2 separate regions of the Homo sapiens genome follow, and region 1 is linked to region 2. The links are contacts of gene promoters, found by promoter capture Hi-C in blood cells and fetal thymus (Javierre and others, 2016). All regions are on one chromosome and are shown on one strand. Each heading gives the region's core, a stretch centred on a gene start or on the middle of the fragment in contact. The rest is flanking DNA. Distances are from core to core; before and after follow the strand shown. Region 1 holds the start of TGFBI (transforming growth factor beta induced). Region 2 holds the start of TRPC7-AS1 (TRPC7 antisense RNA 1).

Region 1 (5,588 bases), core at 2,089-4,588, 190 kb before region 2:
TGCTTGAAAAAGTCTAGTAAAGATTCTTCCAAGCAAGCCTCACTTTCTCCTGTTTAGATTGTTTAATCTGGAAGGAAAAAATTCTTTCTCAAATGACAGGGTTTCTGGTGCTCTGTGTTTGCCTGGTTGGCTCTGGGTCATCTGGGGATGGAGGGTCCCTGCTCTTACCTCCAGCAGCATCACTCTTGTCTCCAAAGAAGCAGCAACCTCAGGTGGGAGAATGGTTATACTCACAGCATTCTGCTTTTCATGTTTGAAAGAGGGGATGGGTGGTGGGGCATGGATGTGGGATTTTAAAAAAATATCTAAACCATAAATAAAGTATTACTGCAATCTCTTTACTGAGCTCATGGAAAAACTCAAGTCATCGAATGTTAGTTTTGCAGACTGGAGAAGTGAGGTCCAGTGAACTTGCTTGACTTGCCCTAAATCTTGCTAGAGAGAGAGCTGGAACCAGATGGCAGGGCTCCTGGCCTCTTACATACAAGGAGCATTTTTCCTAGAAACTGCAATGCAGCCAAATTCTACTGGTCTCAGGGGAAACTTGTTCTGGGAGTCAGCCTGAGCTTGAATCCCTTTGGGTTCTTCCCATTATCCTATGCCAAGCAGTCATGCTGAAACCGAGAAATGTTTTGCTTTCAATAAATGAAATGAGCATTTTCAGATAATTATTTCTGTAGTTGCTCAAAACTATCATATTGTTTCATTGAACCCTACTATATAGAACAATGACTGGGGAGAGGTAATAATAATAATAGCAATGCATATTTATTGGCCATTTTACTTGAATTGTATCATGTAATCTAGTTTAGAGTCCTGTGAGGTAGGTTTTATTATCCTCTCTATGAGGTTGAATAACTTGCCCAAGACCACACAGCTAGGAAGTAGAAAGACTGGTATTTGAACCCATCTTCTCCTTTTCTTCTCCTTCCTCCTCCTCCTCTCTTCCAACACCTGCTCCCAAGGAAGCTCATCCAGTGCATGACTTTAGCTACCACCTGCTCGTAGTGGTGACTCAAATCTGCATCTCCAATCCTCATACCTATCCTGAGCTCAAGACCTTTGAATATAGCTCCCTCCTGTCCATCCCTCCTGGAAATGCAGGTGGCTTGTTCACACATAATGTGAACACAAATGGAGCACTCTCCTCACACACCCAAATGTGCACCTTCACCAGCGTGCCCAGCACAGGCATCCCTTCCTGCCAGCTATGAGCCTCGAGGTTAGCTCTACTCCCCCTCCCTAACCCTGCATGCCCAAGGGGTTTCCAAGTCTAATCAATGCTACCACTAAAATCTCCCATACACCTGTTCCCTCCTCTCCACTAGCTTGATCACTCCCCATGCAGGCCCTCAGTTGCTTTATGCTCTCAGTAGGCCCTCCTCCAGTGCCCACACTCTCTCCCTTCTCCTTCCCACCTTCTTTCTACCAGAGTTCTAACCTCTCCAAGCCCCGCTTGTCTTTTTCTTTCCCTGGCTGCCATCCTAACTCGCCCCTTCCCTTCTCAGACAAGCTTCTACATGCTACTCATCTCTCCATCAAACCACCATATTCGGGCTTTGGCCATCTGCTCTCCACAGCCAAGTCCCCAGTGGCCTCTCTGCTTCTGACACAGTGAAAGCCATTCAGATCTGTCTTGTTGGCAGCATTCCTCACTTTGAGCAGCGCCCTCCTACTAGGATACCCCTCCTTGACTACAACCCCACATTCTCTACTTCCTGGGCTCTTCTGTCACTGGAGGATGACTCCCAGGTGTGAATCTTCATCCCGCGTCCCTCACTCAAGCCCCCGATCCTCATATCCAGCTTTATCCTCATGGGATGCTTCACCAGGATGAGTCATAAGCACCTCAGACTCAGGGTGTCCCAAACCACTCATCTACCTGGCAAGCCTGCACTCTGCATGTGCCTCATTCTGAACATGGCACCATCACCTGCTGCAATGTCCAGACCACAAACACCCTACAATATCCTTGACTCTCCTTTCTCCCCTTCTCCCTGTATACAGACTCCAAATTCTATTGAGACTATTACCTCCTACACCCCTCACATTTGCCCAGCCTTCCCCATCTCTGCCTCTACCACCATAGTTCAAGCTCTCCCATGGTCCCTTCCTGGTTACCTGTTCTTCTTGCCTCCTTAAGCCTCTCATGACACTGGCCATGTCACTTGCCTCCACCCATCACCCGCTAGGCTCTTAGCTGGAGTCTGGGCCCTGCTACCTTCCTCCCCTTCTTCCCTACCCTTGACTCCACCTCCCTGTGCTTCAGCCAACCAGATAACTTGAGTTTCGTGAATGCATGCCTCAGTTTACCTGATTAACTCATTTTCATCTTTCAGGCCTCAGAGCAGGTATCACCCTGTCAGGGCCAGGTGCCTCTTCTTAGCTCCCAAAGCCCCAGCTACTCTTCATGGAACATCATTGGCTTGGGCTACGGATCTTCCCAAATTGGAGCTTTTTCACAAAGGGCTTAGGTCTCACTCATTCTATTAATCCATCTGTGTCTCCCCAGGGCTAGCAGTGCCAAGTAACTGACAGGTGATTAATAGATGCTTGGGTAAGTATCACCTCTTTACCATGTGACAATTTGTTTACCTGCCTTGAGCTCCTCCAGGGCAGGACTCTTGCCTTTGCAGAATCTATCTGGCAGGTACTGTTGCAGAGATGTTTACTGAAGAAGGGAATGAATTAGTACCAAGGTGAGGACCCCACCCTTCCCCACGGGCTCCAAAAGCAGCTTAGAGCCCAACAAAACCTGCCCCACATTTTTGGCGTTTCTGTGGATCACACGATTTACTCATCTGTCTTTCAATGAGCATGACAGGTGGGGTGGGGGTGGAGGGATTAGAGATTGAGGAGCTGGGGAGGGTGGTCAGCTCCTGGGGTGCAGAAACAAGTCTGATGGGCCATGGTGTTCTGGGAATCAGCACTGCCTCCCCTCACCCCTCCCTGCAGTGTTTTGTAGCCTCAAGATCAGTGAGGGAATCTTCGGGCCCCCAGCATGCAGGACCGAAGCCCCCGAGACAGCTGTCCCTCAGTCCCAAGGTCCCCATTTGGAAGCAGCCACAGGAGGCCTAAGGGACCTATACCCTTGGTTTGAGGAAGACTGTGGCGAGGGAGAGAGGGAGGGAGGGCTGGCAGTGAGGGCAAGGGCTGGGAAAACTGAGCACGGGCACAGTGCGGGAGCGGGTGGGTGCCCAGGGCAGCCAGGGGCGCACGGGTTGGGAGGCGCCAGGCGGCCCGCCCTCCTTGCACGGGCCGGCCCAGCTTCCCCGCCCCTGGCGTCCGCTCCCTCCCGCTCGCAGCTTACTTAACCTGGCCCGGGCGGCGGAGGCGCTCTCACTTCCCTGGAGCCGCCCGCTTGCCCGTCGGTCGCTAGCTCGCTCGGTGCGCGTCGTCCCGCTCCATGGCGCTCTTCGTGCGGCTGCTGGCTCTCGCCCTGGCTCTGGCCCTGGGCCCCGCCGCGACCCTGGCGGGTCCCGCCAAGTCGCCCTACCAGCTGGTGCTGCAGCACAGCAGGCTCCGGGGCCGCCAGCACGGGTAAGCCGAGCCGCCTGGCCAGGGGCTGCGGAAGGTCAGGTAGTCGGGGCTCGGAGCGCAAGCCGCTGGGGGCATTGAACTGGGCTGGGGGCGCAGGGGACAAAGCCCGAACTAAAAACCTTGCAGCATGGAGCGCTCGGACACCAGCCCTGCACGCGGTGGAAGGAGAGAGGGAGGGAGGTGGAGGACCATGGAGGGAAAGCGGGAGGCCGCCGCTTTGTAGAAGGGAGTGGGGAAGTGGACCAGAGACTTTCGACGCAGGCCAAGAGCCTGAGACGGACAGCGCTTTCAGCTTCTCCTCCCAGCCACTGCAGAAAGGGGGAAATGGCAACTCTTTGGCCATAATCACCGTGGGAGGGTGCCAAGGGCAAAGCCCACCCAGCAGTACACCTATTCCAACCCAGCCAGGCCCCCGGCCAGCGACTCCAGACAAGAACCTGGGCCACACACGGTGGCAGCATCTAAGGTGCCCCAGGCTCCTGTGCTCCTGGCCAGGCCCTGCACTCAGACACTGCTGGCACCCGACACTGCTCTCTGGGTACAGCAAGGGCAATGTGGCACTTCTTGTCCTGCCCGATGAAGAGCAGGAGAATGCACTGGGCCCTCACACACACTGTTCAAATGGGGAAACTGAGTCCTGAGTGGTTCCACTTTCCCACAGTCCTGAAGTGTGCACTGGAGCCAGGATTGGAGTCTGTCTTAAAGTAATAGCTGGGTTTGTAAATGTAGGACACTATCATTGCAGGAATTCCTTTGAGACCCTGAAGATGTGTTGGCTTTAGGAGACAAACTCAAGCAGAAGGTCTGGTCTGATAGTGGCCCTAATACTGACCCAGGCAGAGGCAGGCAACATTTCTACCTCAAAAACCAGGCCATACCTGCGTCACAAATACCCAGGCTTTGCTGCAGCTTCCAGCCTACCTGGTTGCACCAACTTCTTTTTCATAACTAGGTAAAACTATATATGAGTAGAATCTTGTAGTGACTCCTCAGAGGAAGCCTAAATACCATCGGGGTCTGGCGTTCACACCCACAAGCAATGCCCAAACCTCCAAGAGACTGGGCAGATCTGTGCTCAAATCAAAACTCATTGTTGGGGGTGATAGAGTTGACTTCACAGGCCCTGAAAGTCTTGGCTCCTTGCACTAGGAGTGCTCTGGGTACGGGTACAGGCTGCCCCTTGTAGGGCATAGTTGCTCTTGTTTCCTCTACTTGTGGCTTTATGGTCTAGGCCTTTCAGGAGTTTGGGGCTCTGGCGGAGAGGGCCTGCTGGGAGCACATCTGGCCACCCTGCAGAGTGAAATCAAACCAGGCCTGGCTGCAACCTCAACACCCTCCTGGAAAGAGGAGAATACTGGGGATATCCTGGGGTCTTTCTGGAAGTGGGAGAATCAGCTTTGACTTGGGCAGTGTGCAGAATAGAGTGAGGGGGGATGTCAGAAAGATGAGAGGGATATGAGGCCTCAACATCAAAATGCAAGCACCTGGCATTTTTATTATCTCTGCCCACCTCTCCGTTGGTCTCTCTGCCTTTCCTGCCAATGAATTGTGTTATGTTTGGGTGCCTCAATTTGCCTAGGAGGGTTCTATTTCTTCTGTATCTTCGCCACTAAGTCAGGAGAAGATCCTTATAGCATGCCCTGCAACAGTGTCACCTGTAAGGGCATCTCTCTGCACAGCCACAGTGAAGGATCCTCAAAGGTATTGAGGGCTTTCCATCAAGAGCCATCTTTACAGCAAACCTCTTTCCCTTCAGAGCCCAGAAGAGTGCTGACCAGCTGGAAAACAGGGTTTTTTTCTTAAATGCAGATGCTCTTGATTATGAGTTCCAGATATTAGATCAACTTCCCCACCATACCCCTGCAGGCAAAGCCTCTTAATTAGCTTCCTGCAGCACAGCTGGAAAGGCCTATTGTAATCTGTGATGGGCAGAGTAATCTAAGAAGTCACAGGAGCACCCCTGTCCCAGTAGAATCTGGATGCGCAGGCACATGAACCATGGCAAAATGGTTGCAGGCACAGTTGTATTTACTCTGATCTAACTGTCC
Region 2 (5,658 bases), core at 478-2,977:
ACACCTGCTCCGAACAGGCATTGTTTGGGACTCAGCGCCCTCTGGTGGCTGCTCTCCCCACTCACACTTAGCCTCTTCCTTGGTTGGGGGGACACTTTGAGGCCTCATTCCTGCCCCTCCCCTTCCTTTCACATGGAGGAAAGTTCTAGAATGGGGTGGGAGAAAACTTTCCACTTGTTCTGCATTTCCTTTACCTCCTTCCTGACCTTAGGTCTGGGCACAGGAGGAGGGGCTTGGAGGTGGAGGCTGGAGCTTCTGGGGGTCCTGGCTGCATGACTCTAAGGAGGGTGGTGCCTTCGTCCCCACCCAACCCCCACCGCATCGGCCCATTCTCCTCCCGAAGCATCCCTGGGCCACAGGTTCCCAAGGCCACCTCCAGACTGGGCCCGCGAGTGGGGCGGCCCTGGTAGCGTATCCACAGAAGTTATTATGAGGTAATTTTATTTCTTTCCATTTTAGGTAAAAATAGTAAATACAAGATAATCTTAATAAAGGTAAAAATACATCATTTGGATTTTGTTGTTGTTTTCTAAACAGTGCTACCTACAGTACAGTTTTCAATTTAGGATTTTTAAACTTTTTTTTTATATAAACAAATAGAACTATTTTGCTATTAGGCTGTGTTCTCATCTGGCACTTAAGAATAGATCACAGGTCACCTCCTGGTTCTGTTTGGATGTGTTGGGGGTGGCAGGGAGGGAGTGAGAAGGAGTTTGTGGGTTGAGGTGTTTGTCTTCCCAGGACACAGCCAGAGCTGCAGTCCCACCTGCAGTGGGAGGGCACAGGTGTGCACCCAAGATGGCCTTTTCCTGCTCTGGCCACAGGGATGGGTTTCACTGTGGCTGGACCAAAGGTCTCACACTCGTCAGGGGGCTGTTCCTCCCCTCCTCCCATGGTAGCTTTTCTTACCCAACCACCTAGATTCACAGCAGTTCTGGGTCTAGGCAGGCCAGCGGGCTGGAGATGTCAGTCATGCTGCAAGAGACTGAGCCAGGAGATCCCCTTCGTGTCCTAGAGGAGTGGGCTGGGGACCCCTCCCCACCAAGGATGGGGGCGAGGGCATCCAACCTGGCCTTGGAATGCTGGTAGAAGTCACAGACGCCGATGTGGGCTGCTAAATGTCTTTGCCCTTGTTCACCCTCAGGTGGTCTTTGTTTAAGTTCTTTCCAAACTTCTCGCTGAGTTGTTGAATCAGGTCTGCCAGCTCACCAGTAGCTTGAGATTTTTCCTCAAGAAGCTCATAGCGCAGGCTGGAGATATCTTGCTTGATTTCCTTCAGCTCGCCTGCAAGGACAGAGGAGATTTTGCTGAGTCTGAGTAGGTGGAAGCTCGGGGCTTGTCCCATGCACATGTGGGCATGTGCATCCTTCCAGTGGAATGTCGGGTCCTGGGCCAGCCCACCAGGGTTGAAGGTGAGGCAAGGGGGGCTCTATTTGAACCCAGAACCACCCAGCTCCCCCACCACTGAAGGACACATCGATCCATAGAAAGCCCTTCTCCTCCCATTCCAGGAAAACCTTTCCCTTAGGGGTTTGAAGGAGGAGTCAAGATCAGGGCTGTGAATTGTGTCTAGCACTTGTTTCATAAAATACTTGTTAGAAAGTTTGTTTCAGAGTCACTAAAGGCAGATTTCAAGACTCTGGAAAACAACCCCATTAACCAGAGCATTGCTTTTGATGATGCTATGTTTTGTTCTGTCATTGTTATTTGTAGGGAGGAGAAACTCCCAGGAGCCTGGAGAGAATGGCTCGGCACAGCAGATGCAGCCGTGGTGGCCATGGAGCTGACCAGCCTCTTGGGAGTGAGCTGGCCACCTGAGCACGGTCCACTCAGCCCACACAAGCAGCAGCACCACCTCGCTGACAGGAGCTTCGTCAATGCCTGCCGCCTCCTCCTTCCATAACGAGGGACCACCTAGCAGGGACTTTCACTTTTATTTCCACAGAGAACCTTGTGGTTAGAAGTCCAATGGGTCTAGGCTGTGGGAATCTTCTTATTAACCACAAACAGATGTCAAAAGGATCTTTCCTAATACTGTAGATACTGCACTTGGCTCGTGTGGGAGTCCACTGTCTGTGGAAACATTACTCGTCTATTTTTCAGGTATGGTCTATACACATAAAAGGCAGAGATCTTAAAGGTACAGTTTGATCCATTTTGACAAATGGATACACCCCCTGTTTTTATCAGATGCTTCACTGAGCCCCCGTTTCATGGTGTAATTTAAGTGCCATGACACCTGGATACCCCCACCTTCTATGATCAGTGATATTCACATGAATCAGTTACATACTGCTTGAGGCTGGCTGGCCTGACACTTGGCCATTGTTTGAGACCTACAAGTAGGTAGGTGGGCTGTTGTCTGCCCCTAAACCATGTCAGCTCAGGGGCAGTTCAGTTATGGCTGAGCTTCGAGCTGCATGCTGGGTGCCCCAGGATGAAGCAGAGGGTCACCCAATGACCAGGCTCTTTCTGTAGTTCCCTGTGGCCCAAGCTAGGAGAACAGAAACTTCAATCATGGATGAGGCTGTTTCTAGGTGGCAAATATTTGTCATAAGTATCTCATTAATTACCTGGCATAAAGTAATTTGCTTTTCATCTAAGAGTAACTGCTTAAAATAGACTGGAAAACAACCCAAACAGTGAAAATAATATAGTTGGTAAACTTCAGTGTATATCAGAGACCCTTGGTGCAGTTTTCCAAAAGCAGATCCCCAGACCCCACTCCAGAGATGCTGATTCATTAGGTCTGGGTGGGGTCTGGGATCTGTAGTTTTAACAGCTAGTTCTGAGGTGGGGAACACTTTGAGAAACACGGCTGTCAGTTAGATGCTGAGAACCTCCCACTGAGACTGGACAGGGCCAGTTAGAAGCAAGCGGCGGCAGACCCTAAACGCAGTGTGCATCTGCTCAGTGGATGTGCACCATGGAATGAAGTACAGCATTGGAATTCTGAACCATCCTGCACTCAAGAGGCATGAGGTTGGCTCAAGGCTGCCATTGCTGTGGGAGGCAGAGGAATGTCCCCTACTCCCAAGATGTCCCCGTCCTGATCCCTGATGTTCTGCCTGTGGGAAACATGACTGTTTCTCCTCAAAGGGGAACTGAGGTGGCAAATAGAATTCAGGTTGCTGATCAGCTGCCCTTAACAGAAGGAGATTATTCTGGATTGTCCTGGTGGAACCAATTCAATCACATGAGTCCTTAAAAGTGGAGGAGGGGCCGGGCGCAGTGGCTCATGCCTGTAATCCCAACACTTTGGGAGGCTGAGATGGGCGGATCACAAGGTCAGGAGTTCGAGACCAGCCTGACCAACATGGTAAAACCCCATCTCTACTAAAAAAATACAAAAATTAGCTGGGCGTGGTGGCACACACCTGTGATCCCAGCTACTCAGGAGGCTGAGGCAGGAGAATCACTTGAACCCAGGAGGCAGAGGTTGCAGTGGGCCGAGATTGTGCCGTTGCACTCCAGCCTGGGCAACAGAGTGAGACTCCATCTCAAAAAAAAAAAAAAAAATGGTGGAGGAGGAAGGCAGAAGAGTGGGGTCAGAGATGGGACAATGGAAGATGAGGCAGGGCAAATGGAGTGTGAGGGTGCCTGATGCCTGCTGCCAGCTCTGAGGTGGTGGGGCTGTATGCACAGACCAAGTGCTGGAGCTCAGGGCAGCCCAGCTGTGGCCAGCAAGGCAACAGGGACAGGCCTGCAGCCCCGTGGAAATGCACTCTGCCGACAACTGAATGAGCAAGGAGACTGAGCCTCCCTGGAGCCTCTGGAAAGGAGCACAGTGCCCTGACAACACTGTGGCCGTAGCCCAGTGAGACCCACAGAACCTGTGTTGTTTTAAATCACCACGTGGGTGGAAATCCAGTCATTTACCTTCATTGACTTCGTCATTTTCTCTGTCCACCTGGGCTTTCAGGACGTATCTTTTTATGAGCCGTTTCATGATTTTCTGAAATGCCAAGCAAGGAAGGGATCAGACAGGGCTGGCCTAATGCAGAGGCAGCCTGCGTGGTGTAGCAGGACCCCTCCCTCCCTTGAAGAGCCTCAGCAACCATGGCGACCCTCCCATGCCTGGCGCCTCACTCTGGAGGGGTGCCCTGCACAGTGCGGGTACCTGGCCAGCCTCTGTTTCGCCTCCCCCGCAGGATGCAATGTGCAACTGAACCTGGGATGTAACAGGAATACTTCTTAATGGCAGGAAGCTGAGCCAAGCAGAGAGAGAGACAGAGAGAAAGGGTGGAGTGGGCAGTGGCACAAATCTCTGCTCCAGGGGCCTTGGCCTGGCTCTGCCCTGCTCAGTCAAGTCATCTTTCCTGGACCTCAGTTCTGTTTTAAGGATGGAGGGCTGGGGAAGACTTAGCAGGCCTGCCTGGGTGGAGCTGCCTCCCTCAGAGGTCACAGTGAGCAGTGTGCCCTTCATGAAGAGATCCGCTGGGTACAGAAGTCAGGATCAGGCTTGGAGGACAAGTCCACTGTACCTTGGAAAATTCCTACCAGAAGCAGAAGCAGACACAGCCGGGCCTCTGGGGTTTTACAGAGATACCACTTCCCACAGGCCTGACACTGTACTGCCGGAGTCACACTGGAGCAGGATTTGGCCCTCAAGTTCCATTTATTATGAAGATACTGAATTCGTTAAGCAGGCGAGGCATGAATAAACACTTAAGAGACACCAAGAATAGAGCCAAGTGTAGGAAAGACTGCAGGAGGTGAACTTTGGATTTTGCCAGCTAGTTGGTCCAGGGTTCCTGCGAAATCACAGGATTTAAAAATACTCGGGTAGCCGAGACTTCTGAATCTTCCAAGAGATGAGCAGTGTGGAAGAGAGGAAGGGATTTCCCTGCTCCTTGGTCCTCCCTTCTTGTGGCCTTCTGACCTGCTCACACCTGAGGACCAAGAGGACAGAGGCAGCATTTTCCAGTTTGAAGAGACCTGTAGGGACCTGATTCTGTTCCTAGCTTTGCTACATAGGCTGAGGAAAAGCATCTTGCAAATAAAAAGTAAGTGAACTGGATGCAAAGAGCTGCAGGATTTACTCATTATCATCAATTATGGTTCTTTCCATCCCTTTAACCATGAAGAGCTTGCCACAGAGATGCTTCCTGGCCTGTGATTCTAAGACTTCACCTGAACCCGAAAGGCTCTCTAGGATAACACTGGGTTTAGCTCATTCAGGCCAGCACTGCCCCTCCTCAGCCCTCGGGCTCATGGGCCAACTGGCTGTGTGGTTTGAGTTGTGATCTAATTTCAGGCTGAAGAGTTAATTGGCAGTTGCCTTCCTGCTGCTCCTTCTCAGAGAAGCCTGGGTCTTATCCTACTAGCGGTTAAACTGCAGCGCTGAATTTCTCATGGACATAGTCTAGTCAATAAAGTAAGTTATCTAAGTTATAAAAAATATATCCCTTTCAAGCTAGGTGCAGTGGCTCATGCCCATAATCTCAGCACTTTGGGAGGCCAAGGTGGGTGGATAACCTGAGGTCAGGAGTTCAAGACCAGCCTGGCTAAAATGGCGAAACCCTGTCTCTGCTAAAAATACAAAAATTAGCTGGGCATGGTGGTGTGTGCCTGTAATCCCAGCTACTCGTGAGGCTGAGGCAGAGAGCATTGCTTGAACCTGGGAGGCAGAGGTTGCAGTCAGCCAAGATCATGCCA

What was found. Contacts are between HindIII fragments. The CHiCAGO score rates a contact against its expected background, and 5 or more counts as called.
Region 1: a contact is called between the fragment with the promoter of TGFBI here and the fragment with the promoter of TRPC7-AS1 in region 2, in 3 of 17 cell types (naive B cells, total B cells and fetal thymus). The highest score is 7.4, in naive B cells.

Annotation. Positions count from the first base shown.
Region 1 is chr5:136,025,650-136,031,237 of GRCh38, forward strand. TGFBI (transforming growth factor beta induced) reads left to right here and starts at 3,339. Exons shown (of 17, transcript NM_000358.3): 1 at 3,339-3,540. The coding sequence starts at 3,407. It overlaps LOC105379189 (a long non-coding RNA gene), which reads right to left and starts at 244. Exons shown (of 4, transcript XR_948809.3): 1 at 169-244. RefSeq lists an enhancer at 5,556-5,588. The HindIII fragment of the contact is 4,637 bases long and covers 1,512-5,588 here.
Region 2 is chr5:136,212,321-136,217,978 of GRCh38, forward strand. TRPC7-AS1 (TRPC7 antisense RNA 1) reads left to right here and starts at 1,728. Exons shown (of 2, transcript NR_046708.1): 1 at 1,728-2,103. It overlaps TRPC7 (transient receptor potential cation channel subfamily C member 7), which reads right to left. Exons shown (of 12, transcript NM_020389.3): 11 at 3,880-3,955; 12 at 425-1,284. The coding sequence ends at 1,115. The HindIII fragment of the contact is 8,916 bases long and covers 1-5,658 here.